Regions from separate parts of the Homo sapiens genome. Here all the other regions are linked to region 1. Evidence: promoter capture Hi-C in 16 types of primary human blood cells and fetal thymus (Javierre and others, 2016). All regions are on one chromosome and are shown on one strand. The core of a region is centred on a gene start or on the middle of the fragment in contact, and the rest is flanking DNA. Distances in the headings are between cores, read along the strand shown. Region 1 holds the start of GNA14 (G protein subunit alpha 14). Region 2 overlaps GNA14 (G protein subunit alpha 14). Region 3 overlaps GNA14 (G protein subunit alpha 14).

Region 1 (4,756 bases), core at 971-3,470:
ACAGGCATGTGCCACCACACCCAACTAATTTTGTATTTTTAGTAGAGATGGGGTTTCTCCATGTTGGTCAGGCTGGCTGGTCTCGAACTCCCAACCTCAGGTGATCTGCCCGCCTCGGCCTCCCAAAGTGCTGGGATTACAGACGTGAGCCACTGCACCCAGCCCAAATTTTCTAATGAACAATGAAAATCAACCAAACAGCCATGACTCACAGCAAGCTACCTTTTTGATGTGTGTCCCTTCAGTCTCTTAAAAATGTGTATGCGTATTCTTATACTAAAATCTTATCATACTCTTTATATTTTTGGATCTTGCCTTTTTCATTCAATATATTTTGAGGATTTTCTCCAAATTTATTCACATGTTTACTACTCGCATATCCACATATTTAATGGCTCCAAAACATCTCATTGTATGGATAAACCATGATTTAAGTGATCTCTTCCCTGTTGTTAGGTATTTAGGTTGTGAGTTTTTGTTGTTGTATTGGCAATAAAACCTTTGCATCAGTCATGAGGCTTCTTTCTAGTTATTTCTTAAGGGAGAAATTACTGGTTTGGCCGAAGGGGACGGACATGTTTAAGGCTTCAGATATATACTGCCAAGCTGACTAGCCCAGGAAAGTTGTACAGATTTGCCCTAATCAATATGTTTCATAACTGTTTTTGAAATCTTGCCAACTTTAAACCTAATAGGTCAGTATCAGTAATTCCCGTTAACGTAAGAGTTCAAATTTGCCCTAGTTTTAATCATTTAAAAATTTTTTATAATTTTTAAATGATAACAATTATGATGCAACCATGACTTTGAGAAGCCAAGAGATCTTATTCTCAAATTGTAAATGAATCCGTAAGAGCTAAGAGAGAAGAAACAGGCTATTAAATGGCCAAAGATCAAATCTGAAATGTCCAGGAGTTTTCCTGTAGGGGTCACTGTTACTGTCAATTTATGCCTGCAAGAAAACTAAAATAGTCACACATTAAAGCATGTATGCACATTTTTAATGTCTGATTCCTCTACATTTCTTAAACTGTAAAATAATAAGAACATGCAGCCAGATAGCATCGCGATACCAACTTCTTTATATAATGACACGTACCATTCCACTCAATGTGCTCCTCAGTTTGAATTTATAAAATATATGCTACTCAAATGAAAGGCACTTATGCCTGCTCTTAGTAGAGGAAGCGCTAGCTAATTGCCTAACGCCCCATTAGCATATGGCCTATACTGACTTGAGAAGGAAAGAACGTTCATTGCTGTGGCCAATAGGATCCCCTCTCCCCACCTTCCCTTTTCTGCATCAAAATCTACACAGACAAAAGTCAGATGTTGTAATATGCATTTTATCGTGTCACTTAAGTACTAAGAGGTGCTTTTAAAGTTTTTATTAATGCTGCTCAAACTTGACCCCGACGGTCCAGGATACAGGCCAAGGTGTCAGTGCGGACACAATCGCAAGGCGGCTGTTAGGCTTCAGGGCTGGGCAGGAAACTTGCCAGGTGCTACTAGGAACGTATCAGCCCTTTCTACAAAGCAGGTGTCTTTCCCATCATAAAATGCAAAGCAATCAGCCGTTCCCTTTCTCCCCAGCCCCCTCGTCCGGAGACCGAGAGGATATTTACCCTGGGCTCTTGCAGTTCTCTTATAACTGAACCCAGCGGCGGCTCCTTCTCCGAGCTCAGAGCCAGCAGGCTCAGGCCCAGCCACACTTTACAGGCAAATTGCCGAGCTGACCAAGGGCTTTGGCCAAGCCCGAGCTGGGCCGGGGCGTCCGGGAAGCGGAAGGAGCCAGTCTAGGAAATCCGGGTGTGCGTGGTGGTGAAGCTGGTGGGCAAGCTTCCACTTCAGGTCCGGGGCTTTGTGTCCCGCAACAGACGCTTGGCGCCGCTCCTCTTCCAGCCTGCTGCCGCCTTCTCCGAGCGAGTGAGTTGGCGAAACTCACTCACCTGTCGGAACCCGGTGCCTGGCGGCCAGACGCGCAGATTACAGCAAACCTTGGCCGGGACGCCCCAGCCAGGGAGGCAAGTGTGGGAGCTGCTCCTAGAGGTGCCAGCTCCCACCCCCAGCTCCGCGCCCCCTGCTCGTCCCCTTTCACTTCCAGGCGCCTTCGGCTTGGGGTGCCCAGAAGGGCAAGTCCAGCAGACGCCAGGGCTGCAGGTTCAAGATGCTCCGCCTCCTCCTGCCACTTAGAGCCACAAACGCTAGCGGGAACCTTTCCACTCAGTCTTAGTCTGCGGTCACTGCTGAGGTTTTCAGAACTTTCCAGGCAAAGGCCAGCCAGGTCCTTTGCCTCCAACCCACTCCGCGCCTACCTCCCGCCTGGGGACACCCCTAGGCCCAGGAGATCCTACTCTCCCCCGAGCACCGACGTTCCAACTCGTCTGCGCCCCCGACTGCTGTCCGGCTCCTGTGCCAAGGGGCGCGCGCATCTTCCCGGGGCCAGCAACGCTCCCAACTTCTCGACTCGCCCTCCTCCTCCCCAGAGCGAGAGTGGGGCGGGCTGAGCCCGGATCCGGGGTGCACTCGAGCGTTCCCAGCGCTCGGCATTCACCCCGCCTCAGAGCCGACTTTCGAAGGGGGATTGAGCCTCGGAGGTCCAGGCGTCTTACTCCAAAGCTCAAGTCGGCCCCCGTCTTTTCTTTCCACACCCCTGTGCCCGTCGCATGCTGGCCGGGTGAGCGGCCGGGCCGAGGATTCGGGTGCCCGGGGCCGCGTCGCCCCGTCGGGTACTGAGCTGAGCGCACCATGGCCGGCTGCTGCTGCCTGTCCGCGGAGGAGAAGGAGTCGCAGCGCATCAGCGCGGAGATCGAGCGACAGCTTCGTCGGGACAAGAAGGACGCGCGCCGTGAGCTTAAGCTGCTGCTGCTGGGTGAGTGGCTGCGTCTCCGACTCCAGTGAGCCGGGCGTTTTTCTTCCGAGCCCTCCCGGCCTCTCCACTGGCACCCGCGCGGCCCTGGAGCCCAGCGGGGTGCAGGGCGGCTTCGTCCTTCTCCCCCTCGGAGCTCACGGATGCCAGCAACTTGGGGCCTTAGGTGCCTGTTCTTTCCATCTCTGGCTGGGCGACTTGCAAAAGCAACACCTTCCCCTGCCCCAAAACAGGATAGGGACCTGTAACACTTAACCTCTTGACCGCTGTACCTTATGTGTTCCGGTGTGCCCCTCTCCTCAAAACCCCGTCCACTCCTCCGCCCGCAGCACACCCAGCTTGGGGTCTGTGGTGACCCACATCTTGGGTTCAGCGCTAGCTCTGACCCGTACGCTTTCAGTTCTAGATGAAGCATCTTGAGAATTTACCATGTGCCAGATCGTGCTAAGTTCTTAAGGGCATCACCACCTGGTGATGCGGGCAGGTGATATCGCTATTCTAGAGAATTAAAACATGGAGGCCTGGAGAACTGACCAACTTGCCCTGATTGAGAAAAGGCAAAGCCGATGCTAGGTCAGCTGTGGGGGTGAAGCCCATGCCGTTGCTGCTCCTCTGACCGTGAGCTCCTATGCCTGCCTCCCATGGGGGTCCCTCAGGCCTTTGTGTTTGCAGCGGACCCAAACCTCCCTTGCCCAGCTTGACTCAGTGTGTCCACGTCCTAGGATTCAGCTTGGCTGCCCTGGTGCCTCTGGCAGGTCTTCATCCAGCTCTTTTGGTGTCTCTGCAAAGGTCTGGGTAGGACATCCACTTTCAAACACAGAAAGAACACAGTTTAAGGTTTGCCCAAGTTATGCCATGAGGCAAGGATCCCATCTCAGACTTTCTAGAACGCTGTCAACACATTTGCTGTTTGAGGAATATTTTACCTTTTCTACCTTTCAGACCATGATATCAGCTGTCAATTTTTTTCTAGATAGCCACAAAGATTTCAACTTTTTTTCTTTCACCCCTTTTGAACAGGAATCTTCTCTTATACCATCTATTTATTCATCTTTATTCCTTGTATAGGAATCACCCTCCCAGAAAGCTTCAAGGAAAGAAAAAGTTGATCTAGTTAGTGTAATATAGAGAAGGCTCTCAGCCAGTATGGCCTTCAGACCTGGGCGGAAGAACCCCCTTATCCTTATCCCCTGGGTTTAAAGGGCCCAGTCTGGCCTTCTGGGGGTTGGGGGGGGGTGTGCCCCTCCCCACAGAGCTGGAAGTCTGTAGGTCCAAAGGGGCTTGCTACCCAGAGACCATGCTGCCCCCTCCCTCCCAAGACCTGGATGGAATGAATACCCAGCCCAAAGGGACCCATACCAGCTTCTAAGGCCTGAGCCCTAGAAAAGAAGGCAGACCTGATCCCTGGAGAGCTCACAAAGGGGCAGCTGTTTGCTGGGGCGTAAAAGTGCTTGGAAATGTGGGCTGGGTAGGAGTGGAGGGAGTCCCCGTGGGTGCCCAAGAGGCCCCCCTAGGAGAGAGGGAGCTTGGGTGGGGAAGGGAAGGGGCTCTGTTCATTGGCCAGGTCTGCTATTTCTGTGTCTGACCCATAACTTTGAAAAGTCTGAAAATTCTAAATTGTCCCTGGCCTTCTAGGCTGTTATAAAGCTACCTTTGTCAAGGGAGGAGGAATACGTGAGAATTTGCTAGCTTGATTAACACTAGAAAATAACTATGGGTGCGGGGCTTTGTACTTTTGCCCTGAACCCCACAAACCAGAGGGGTTTAGTTGCGTATGTAACTTTTTTCTTTATAAGGGCAGGCTGAACCCTATTTCATTTTGCAATGCTTTGATTTGTGTCAATGTATGAAGTACAGTGTCCAGAATATACCAGGAGCTTGACAAAT
Region 2 (4,756 bases), core at 812-3,311, 220 kb after region 1:
GGGCAAACAGAAGCAGGAGGCCTGTAGCCTGGGGCCCCACATGCTCACCAGCTTCAGCAGACAGTGGCCCAGAGACTGCGGCGGGGCAAGGGAAGAGATGGATGGACTGGCAATGCGCCATGTTGTTTCCAAAATATTTCCTTTCTACTTCATCCCAAGTCCCTTGTTTTTCACTTAGAATCGCATGGAAGAGAGCAAAGCCTTATTTAAAACCATCATCACCTACCCCTGGTTTCTGAATTCGTCTGTGATTTTATTCTTGAACAAGAAGGATCTTTTGGAAGAGAAAATCATGTACTCTCATCTAATTAGCTATTTCCCAGAATACACAGGTAAGTGTCTATCTTGTGGACAGTGTTTTCTGTGCTGATCTCGTCCACCTCCCGGGCATCAGTCTAGAGTTATCACGGCTCAAAGGGGCCTCCCTGGTCTGCCTGCAATAGCCTCTCCCCCTATTCCCACCTTCAAACAGAAGCTCTAGTTGCACCATTGTTGTGTTTTCACCACAGCACCTCCACATGTGCTTCCCTCAGTGCTTGGAATACCCTTACCAACTCCTTTCGCTGCCTCCATGTTGTTCTCCAAAACCCAGCAAAGGCCTCCCCTTCTCTGGGAGCCTTTCTGGCTTCCCCTGCCCATCTGGTCTGCAGGAAGGGTGCCTCCTCCTTTCTGCTCCCTCAGCAGCCTAACCCCTGCTTGCTCTCTTGGCCACATCATGCTATGTCATATCCTCTGCTCACTCAGCTCTCTTCCCAGTCGGCTCCATGAGGGTAGAGACTCTGCTTGATTTATCTGTGCATTCCTCATGCCAGTCAGAGCACCTGGTGCTTCTTATGTGTATGTTAGAGTGTGGCATCCCTTTTCCCAGACACATGGTGGACTCACATAACCTGTCCAAGGTAGGAGAGTCTCATGCCCTGTTGCTAATTGTTTCTGGTACAGGAGGTCTCAAACCTTAAGTTTGACACTGATATTTAGTGGATTCATGTTTTAGCACTCTTCTTTCCCCTTTTACTAACCATACTGGCTGTGTAGTGTAGCACCCTCGAGCTTTAAAATCAGCCTGATGTTAGTTCCCACATTCTTCCTTTTATCTCTCCTAGACCAGAGCTGTCTGTCCATATGTGTTAGCCAGGATTACTTCTCTTCAATAGTGGTCCAAATCAGACAAATTGGGTCACTATGTTTAAACAAATCACTGTAAAGTACAATTTTTAGATACCAGAGGACATTTTAAAATATGACTATTTTATGGGTTCATGATGAGATACCATAAAAATAATGCTCCAGGTAAACCGTTCCCTGGAAATAAAGATGGATCAAAGCAGGATCTCAAATAAGAACAAGAATACATTAAAAAATGGTTCTTGGGGCCAGGCACGGTGGCTCACGCCTGTAATCCCAGCACTTTGGGAGGCCAAGGCAGGTGGATCACCTAAGGTCAGGAGTTCGAGACCAGTCTGGCCAACATGGTAAAACCCCGTTTCTACTAAAAATACAAAAATTAGCTGTGTGTGGTGGTACGCATCTGTAATCCCAGCTACTTGGGAGGCTGAGGCAGGAGAATTGCTTGAACCCCAGAAGCAGAGGTTGCAGTGAGCTGAGACCGTGCCACTGCACTCCAGCCTGGGCTACAGAGCGAGACTCTGTCTCAAAAAAAAGGTTCTTGGGAGGACATGGTGTTAAGTCTGTGTCTTTATTCCTGTAATTGCACTTGTGACTAGGACCGAAACAGGATGTCAGAGCTGCCAGAGACTTTATCCTGAAGCTTTACCAAGATCAGAATCCTGACAAAGAGAAAGTCATCTACTCTCACTTCACATGTGCTACAGATACAGACAATATTCGCTTTGTGTTTGCTGCTGTCAAAGACACAATTCTACAGCTAAACCTAAGGGAATTCAACCTTGTCTAAAAGCTGCTGCCCACTCCTCCCCTATAACAGAAGATGTGATTTGCAAACTCCTTGTTTTATTTGCAAGTGCTTCTGACATCACCAGAGCCAGCCCCATGCCAGGAACTAAGGATGTCATGTAGATCGTGGGGACAGAGATGGGTGATGGAACTTGGAAGATATTTGAGTTTACCAACATACTTTAAAAGTCCTTACATCCCAAATTGTGTTTATAATTATTTTCTTGACTTTTGGCTATAAGATTTTGTGTAATTTTTGAATTTGGTGTTTTCTAGAATTTTTAAAAGCCACTTTGATTTAGTTTTAAATATGTTTAAAAATAGCGATTAAAATTATGTAAGCAAGGAGCCTGTTAGTTTATAGATCATGCCTTCAAACCTCTAGAGTTAATTTGGGTGACTTTTTTAAAAATAAGAATGTTAATGGGTTTGAAGCTTTTTATTAAACCTTGTAATTTAGAGACATTTTTAATTGTGTTTCTCACCTCATGCTGAAGGGTGACTCCTTTAACATGCCACCAAAGATTTTTTTTAAACACTTGGTTCTTTTTGTGTGTTAACTTTCTAAGCCAAATTAATGGATATATAAGTATATCTAATTTAGCTTTGCCACAGTTTGATCACCAAGAAGCCAAAGCTGACATAGAGTAAATGGGCTCTAGATAGCATATATGTTTTATTGGTGAAAAATGTGTGTGTGTGCACGTGTGTGTGTGTGTACATTTTTACCCCCAATGTATATGACCAGATCTTAAAAATGTATGAAATGGCTAGAAGTCCACATTGTTTGACAAATGTTACGTAACCCTGCCAAAGTTCTGATGGCCACCACAGATTTGCTGTTTGAATTATGTATGCTGTGCCTTTCTGAGGAGGCTAAGAATATACCATTCTGCTATTAGCACTGGGTTATGTTGTGTTTCTTAGAGCTCATGGTTGACTGATGGTTCTGCTCCTAAACAGAAAAATGCTGTGGCCTTAATAGTAACTCGGAAACTTTCCTAAGATTCCTCCTTTCAAGGCAAGTCTGCGCATCATCGTGTCATGCTGCAGTTCCCTCAGTAGCTGGCTGGGTCAAGCAGAAGGAGAATCCTCTGGGAATTAAGAGTGCTCCACACTAAAGGCCAAGATGGTTTTGTGCATGTGTGCACACATGTGTGTGCACACACACATACACCATTTGGGGACGTAAGGTATGAAATATCTGTCTCAAATCAGTCTATAAAATGCACCTCGGTTGGCTACATATGTTATGGAACCATGTGTCCCCATTCTGTGGGAACAATTCCAATTGCTGAAAAAGACTGAAATTATTCTGATATGCAGCAATTCTACAATAGCAACATCTAGCTTTAAAAATATGAATCCTCACTCAAGAGATAAATGCAATAGCAACAGCTTTTGTGGAAGTTCACAAATTGATGTTAAAATTTATCTAGAACAGTAAAGTCCAGAAATAGCCGAGACAGTTTTGCGTGAGAACAGAGAGAGGGGAATGGAGCTCTTTAGGATATCTAGAAGCACAAAGAAAATACAAGACAATTCCCCTCCCCACCAACGATGGGCTAAAGGCTATGGACTGGGTTTCACTAGCCAATTAACATAAAAAGGGTTCAACAGAATCCAGTCATCTGGGAAATTAAACCATGAAGAATTCCATTTCTTATTTTAAGCACTTTCTTGCATTGAGTTTTTGTTAATTTATAGTTGGCTGACTACTTAAAGCATATAAGAAAATGATGGCTTTCCATATCCTGGTTGTGGGAGGGCTGTTAAATAAGTCATTCAAAGGGTGGTAACAATATTTTCTTAAGGCATGGAAAGGCTAGACTCTCAATGTCAGAGGTGAATTAATTACCTCTGCCAATACTGATTCTGCTGGTAGAAAATTCTCTCCTGGCCCTTCATTCAATATTCTCATTACTTACTGGGGAAATGAGTCATGCGGAGTTTTCTAAGGTTAAGAGACAGAATGTCGGTGGTTAAGAATTCACTAGGTCGAGACAATCCTGGCCAACATGGTGAAACCCCATCTCTACTAAAAAAAAAAAAATACAAAAATTAGCTGGGCGTGGTGGCACACACCTGTAGTCCCAGCGACTCGGGAGGCTGAGGCAGGAAGATCACTTGAACCTGGGAGGTGAACGTTGCAGTGAGCCGAGATCGTGCCACTGCACTGCAGCCTGGTGACAGAGCAATACTGTCTGTCTCAAAAAAAAAAAAAAAAAGAGAATTTACTAGGTACTATACCACCCCAAGCTTTTAGTCAGCAATGATCATGCTGGGCTGGAATGTCGCCTGCTTTGACTGAAAAATCAGGACCTTGGGCAATCTGTTATTCACATTTGTTTCAGCCCCAAAGAGGGTGGAATTTATATAGGCAAGGGAAGGGTATTAATAATGTTTCTAGTTCTATCAAAAAACTAAAAACAGAAGCAGACCAAAGATCAGAAATCTTTATTTGACAAAGGTATACATGGTGAAAATGGGCAGTCATCTTACCATGCAATCCAAATCTACCAATACCAAGAAATGCTTATTGTTAAGAAAAAAAATCATTAGTGAGCATGGCCAACCAATTTTTAGAGAGAGGAATAAAAGAATAAGATTAGTTTCAAAAGGAAGAACTTCACTGTAAATATCTGTGTTTATAAATTATCTTAGAATACACAAAACCAAGGCAGAGGCTGTGTAACAGGCAACTGAGCCAAGCACACATAAAAGAGGGATGAGGAACAGAAAAGTGTAGGAAATCCTGCAGCGATGCAGAAATAGATATTTTTAAAATTATCATAATCAATGACCGTATTTTCATCAAAGAAAGAATAAGCATTCCAAAGCA
Region 3 (4,756 bases), core at 1,033-3,532, 160 kb after region 1:
TCTCCTTAAAGCCTCCCTATTACCTGAAACACAGTAGTATTGAAATTAGGCCAATTAATAATCCTACAATGGTCTCAAAATGTTCAAGTGAAAAGAGGAGTCACACATCTCTCACTTTAAATCAAAAGCTAGAAATGATTAAGCTTAGTGAGGAAGGCATGTAAAAAGCTGAGACAGCCAAAAGCTAGGCCTCTTGCACCAAATAGCCAAGTTGTAAATGCAAAAGAAAAGTTCTTCAAAGAAATTGGAAGTGCTACTCTAGTGAATACACAAATGATAAGAAAGTGAAATAGACTTATTGCTGATATGGAGAAAGTTTTAGTGGTCTGGATAGAAGATCAAACAGCTGTAACATTGCCTTGGCCAAAATTGAATCCAGAGCCAGGCCCTAACTCTCTTCGATTCTATGAAAGCTGAGAGGTAAGGAAGCTGCACAATAAAAGCTGGAAGTGAGAAGAGGTTGGTTCATGAGGATTATGGAAAGAAGCCATCTCTGTAACATAACAGTGCAAGGTGAAACAGCAGGTGCTGATGGAGAAGCTGCAGCAAGTTATCCAAAATATCTAGCTAAGATGATTGATGAAAGTGGCTACACCAAACCACAGATTTTCAATATAGATGAAACAGCCTTCTATTGGAAGAAGACAACATCCAGGACTTTCATAGCAAGAGAGAAGTCAATGCCTGGGTTCAGTGCTTCAAAGGACAGGCTGACTCTCTTGTTAGGGGTTAATGCAGCTGGAGACATTAAGTTGGAACTAATGCCAATTTACCATTCTAAAACCCTAGGGCCCTTAAGAATTGCACAAAATCTACTCTACCTGTGCTCTATAAATGGAACAACAAAGCCTGGATGACAGCCCATCTGTAGACAGAATGATTTACTGAATATTTTAAGCCTACTGTGGAGACCTACTGCTTAGCAAAAAAGATTCCTTTCAAAATATTACTACTCATTGACAATGCACCTGGTCACCTAAGCGCTCTGATGGAGATGTACAAGGAGATTAATGTGTTTTTTTTTAAATGGTTGCTAACAAAACATTGTTCTGAAGCCCATGGATCAAGGAGTAATTTTGACTTCCAAGTCTTATTATTTACAAAATGCATTTTTTAAGGCTATAGCTGTCATAGATAGTGACTTCTCTGATTGATCTGGGCAAAGTAAATTGAAAGCCTTCTGGGAAGGATTCACCATTCTAGATACCATGAAGAACATTTGTAATTCCTGAGAGGAAGTCAAATTATTAACAGGTGTTAGGCATAAGTTGATTCCAACTCTCATGGATGACTTTGAAGGTTCAGGACTTTGGTGGAGGAAGTAATTACAGATGTGGTAGGAGTATAAGAGAACTGGAATTAGAAGTGGAGCCTGAAGATGTAACTGAATTGCTGCAATCTCATTATAAAACTTGAAAAAATGAGGAGTTCCTTCTTATGGATGAGCAAAGAAAGTGATTTCTTGAGATGGAAACTACTCCTGTGGAGATGCTGTGAACATTTTTGAAATGACAACAAAAGATTTAGAGTATTATATAAGTTTAGTTGATAAAATAGTGGCAGGATTTGAGAGGATTAACTCAAATTCTACTGTAGGTAAAATGCTATCAAACAGCATCACATGACACGAAGTCTTTTATGAAAGGAAGAGTCAATCAATGCGGCAAACTTCATTGCTGCCTTAAGAAATTGCTCACAATCACCTCAACCTTTAGCAACCACCATCCTGAGCAGCCATCAACATAAGGAAAGATCCTCTGTGAGCAAAAAGATTATAACTTGCTGTATGCTCAGATGATCATTAGCATTTTTAAAAAATAAAATATTTTTCAAGTAAGGTACGTACAGTGTTTTTTTAGATATAATGCTATTGCACACTTAATAGACTACAATAGAGTATAAACCTAACTTTTGTATGTACTAGGAAACCAAAATTTGTGTGACTCATTTTATTGAAATTTTTACTTCATTACAGTGGCCTGGAACCAAATTCATAATGTCTCTGAGGTATGCCAGTATATATAGGGCTTGGTACTATCCATGGTTTTGGGTGTCCACTGAAGGTCTTGGAATATACCCTCCATGGATAAAGGGGACAACTGTACTACAAGATATAAAATGAAAAAGAGCAGTCCCCTGCCTCATCCCTGATTCATACTACCACAAAGTGTAGTACTCTTACTTTCTAATGGAAACAATTTTATATCCCTGCCTACAGCACCCACACCCACCCACCCACACTTGTATTCCTTACATTGTTATATAACAATTTGTGATGAAATCGTTTATCACTTATGATTATATAAATATTGTTCACAGTTGAGCCATTTCTAACCATGATCACAATTCTCTTTTTGAACACGTTTTAATTTTTTCCAAGAAGGTTGTTTTATGTGCCCATTAGTAGTTTATTCCTAAACTTTGAGGCAGAATTATAAAACTCCTCTTAAGACAAACTGTATTTATAAATTCCATTTTTTCTCTTGGATATGTTTCACTTTAAGCTCTTCATCCTCCTACTCTGAGCTAGATTGATTGTTCTTTTAATTGACTGCAAGTTCTGATTATGACACTTCCCTTTACCTCTTTACTGTGTTCCAGTTGTTATTTCTTCTTCTTTCTGATTCTGTGTTTACCTGGAGCACATCCTTTCATGTTCTCCAAAGAAAAGGGGCATGGGAGAGAAATTGTTTTGTATTCTTGAATGTCTTAAATGTCTTATTCTGCCCTTAGACTTGATCAATATTTGTCTGGGTATTGAATTCTAGTTTGAAAGTCATTCTCACTCTGATTTTGAAAGCATTACTATCTTTTATTTTGTGTTTGTTTTTTGAAAAATCTAATGTCATTCTAATTCTACATTCCTTATATATTCTCTTTTTCTCAAAGAATGTCATACCTTCATTTTATCCCTACGGTTATTGAGGTGGGTTATTTCCCATTCATTATGCTGGGTCCTCCAGAGCTCTTTCAGTCCAAAGATTTATGTGCTTTAGTTCTGGGAATTTTCATATAAGACTCCTTTAAAGGAGGCCAGCCTGCCTCTGTAGGCTCCACCTCTGGGGGCAGGGCACAGACAAACAAAAAGACAGCAGTAACCTCTGCAGACTTAAATGTCCCTGTGTGACAGCTTTGAAGAGAGTAGTGGTTCTCCCAGCATGCAGCTGGAGATCTGAGAACGGGCAGACTGCCTCCTCAAGTGGATCCCTGACCCCTGAGCAGCCTAACTGGGAGGCACCCCCTATTACGGGCAGACTGACACCTCACACGGCCGGGTACTCCTCTGACACAAAACTTCCAGAGGAACGATCAGGCAGCAGCATTTGCAGGTCACCCATATCCGCTGTTCTACAGCCACCGCTGTTCGGCAGCCACTGCTCCTGATGCCCAGGCAAACAGGGTCTGGAGTGGACCTCTAACAAACTCCAACAGACCTGCAGCTGAGCGTCCTGTCTGTTAGAAGGAAAACTAACAAACAGAAAGGACATCCACACCAAAAACCCATCTGTACGTCACCATCATCAAAGACCAAAAGTAGATAAAACCACAAAGATGGGGAAAAAACAGAGCAGAAAAACTGGAAACTCTAAAAAGCAGAGCACCTCTCCTCCTCCAAAGGAACGCAGCTCCTCCCAGCAATGGAACAAAGCTGCACGGAGAATGACTTTGATGAGTTGAGAGAAGAAGGCTTCAGACGATCAAACTACTCTGAGCTACAGAAGGAAATTCAAACCAATGGCAAAGAAGTTAAAAACTTTGAAAAAAAATTAGACGAATGGATAACTAGAATAACCAATGCAGAGAAGTCCTTAAAGGACCTGATGGAGCTGAAAGCCAAGGCTCAAGAACGACGTGAAGGATGCAGAAGCCTCAGGAGCTGATGCAATCAATTGGAAAAAAGGGTATCAGTGATGGAAGACGAAATGAATGAAATGAAGCAAGAAGAGAAGTTTAGAGAAAAAAGAATAAAAAGAAATGAACAAAGCCTCCAAGAAATATGGGACTATGTGAAAAGACCAAATCTAGGTCTGATTGGTGTACCTGAAAGTGACAGGGAGAATGGAACCAAGTTGGAAAACACTCTGCAGGATATTATCCAGGAGAACTTCCCCAATCTAGCAAGGCAGGCCAACATTCAGATTCAGGAAATACAGAGAACTCCACAAAGATACTCTTCAAGACGAGCAACTCCAAGACACTTAATTGTCAGATTCACCAAAGTTGAAAGGAAGGAAAAAATGTTAAGGGCAGCCAGAGAGAAAGGTCGGGTTACCCACAAAGGGAAGCCCATCAGACTAAGAGAGATCTCTCGACAGAAACTCTACAAGCCAGAAGAGAGTGGGGACCAATATTCAACATTCTTAAAGAAAAGAATTTTCAACCCAGAATTCTTTTCTTTTATCCAGCCAAACTAAGCTTCATAAGTGAAGGAGAAATAAAATCCTTTACAGACAAGCAAATGCTGAGAGATTTTGTCACCACCAGGCCTGCCCTAAAAGAGCTCCTGAAGGAAGCACTAAACATGGAAAGGAACAACTGGTACCAGCCACTGCAAAAACATGCCAAAATGTAAAGACGATCAAGGCTAGGAAGAAACTGCATCAACTAATGAGCAAAATAACCAACTAACATCATAATGACAGGACCAAATTCACACATAACAGTATTAACTTTAAATGTAAATGGGCTAAATGCTCCAATTAAAAGACACAGACTGGCAAATTGGATAAAGAGTCAAGACCCATCAGTGTGCTGT

What was found. Contacts are between HindIII fragments. The CHiCAGO score rates a contact against its expected background, and 5 or more counts as called.
Region 2: a fragment that was not itself captured here is called in contact with the fragment with the promoter of GNA14 in region 1 in 2 of 17 cell types (erythroblasts and endothelial precursors); the score reaches 5.3 in erythroblasts.
Region 3: a contact is called between a fragment that was not itself captured here and the fragment with the promoter of GNA14 in region 1, in 1 of 17 cell types (endothelial precursors). The highest score is 6.4, in endothelial precursors.

Annotation. Positions count from the first base shown.
Region 1 is chr9:77,645,786-77,650,541 of GRCh38, reverse strand. GNA14 (G protein subunit alpha 14) reads left to right here and starts at 2,220. Exons shown (of 7, transcript NM_004297.4): 1 at 2,220-2,872. The coding sequence starts at 2,749. The HindIII fragment of the contact is 2,117 bases long and covers 1,842-3,958 here.
Region 2 is chr9:77,421,138-77,425,893 of GRCh38, reverse strand. GNA14 (G protein subunit alpha 14) reads left to right here. Exons shown (of 7, transcript NM_004297.4): 6 at 179-332; 7 at 1,725-2,815. The coding sequence ends at 1,915. It overlaps VPS13A (vacuolar protein sorting 13 homolog A), which reads right to left. Exons shown (of 72, transcript NM_033305.3): 72 at 4,357-4,756. Among named protein-coding and RNA genes, the nearest start is that of GNA14-AS1, 24 kb to the left of the region's middle. The HindIII fragment of the contact is 581 bases long and covers 1,771-2,351 here.
Region 3 is chr9:77,481,971-77,486,726 of GRCh38, reverse strand. The region is part of intron 2 of GNA14 (G protein subunit alpha 14); the gene reads left to right. The region is part of intron 2 of GNA14-AS1 (GNA14 antisense RNA 1); the gene reads right to left. Among named protein-coding and RNA genes, the nearest start is that of GNA14-AS1, 37 kb to the right of the region's middle. The HindIII fragment of the contact is 4,273 bases long and covers 146-4,418 here.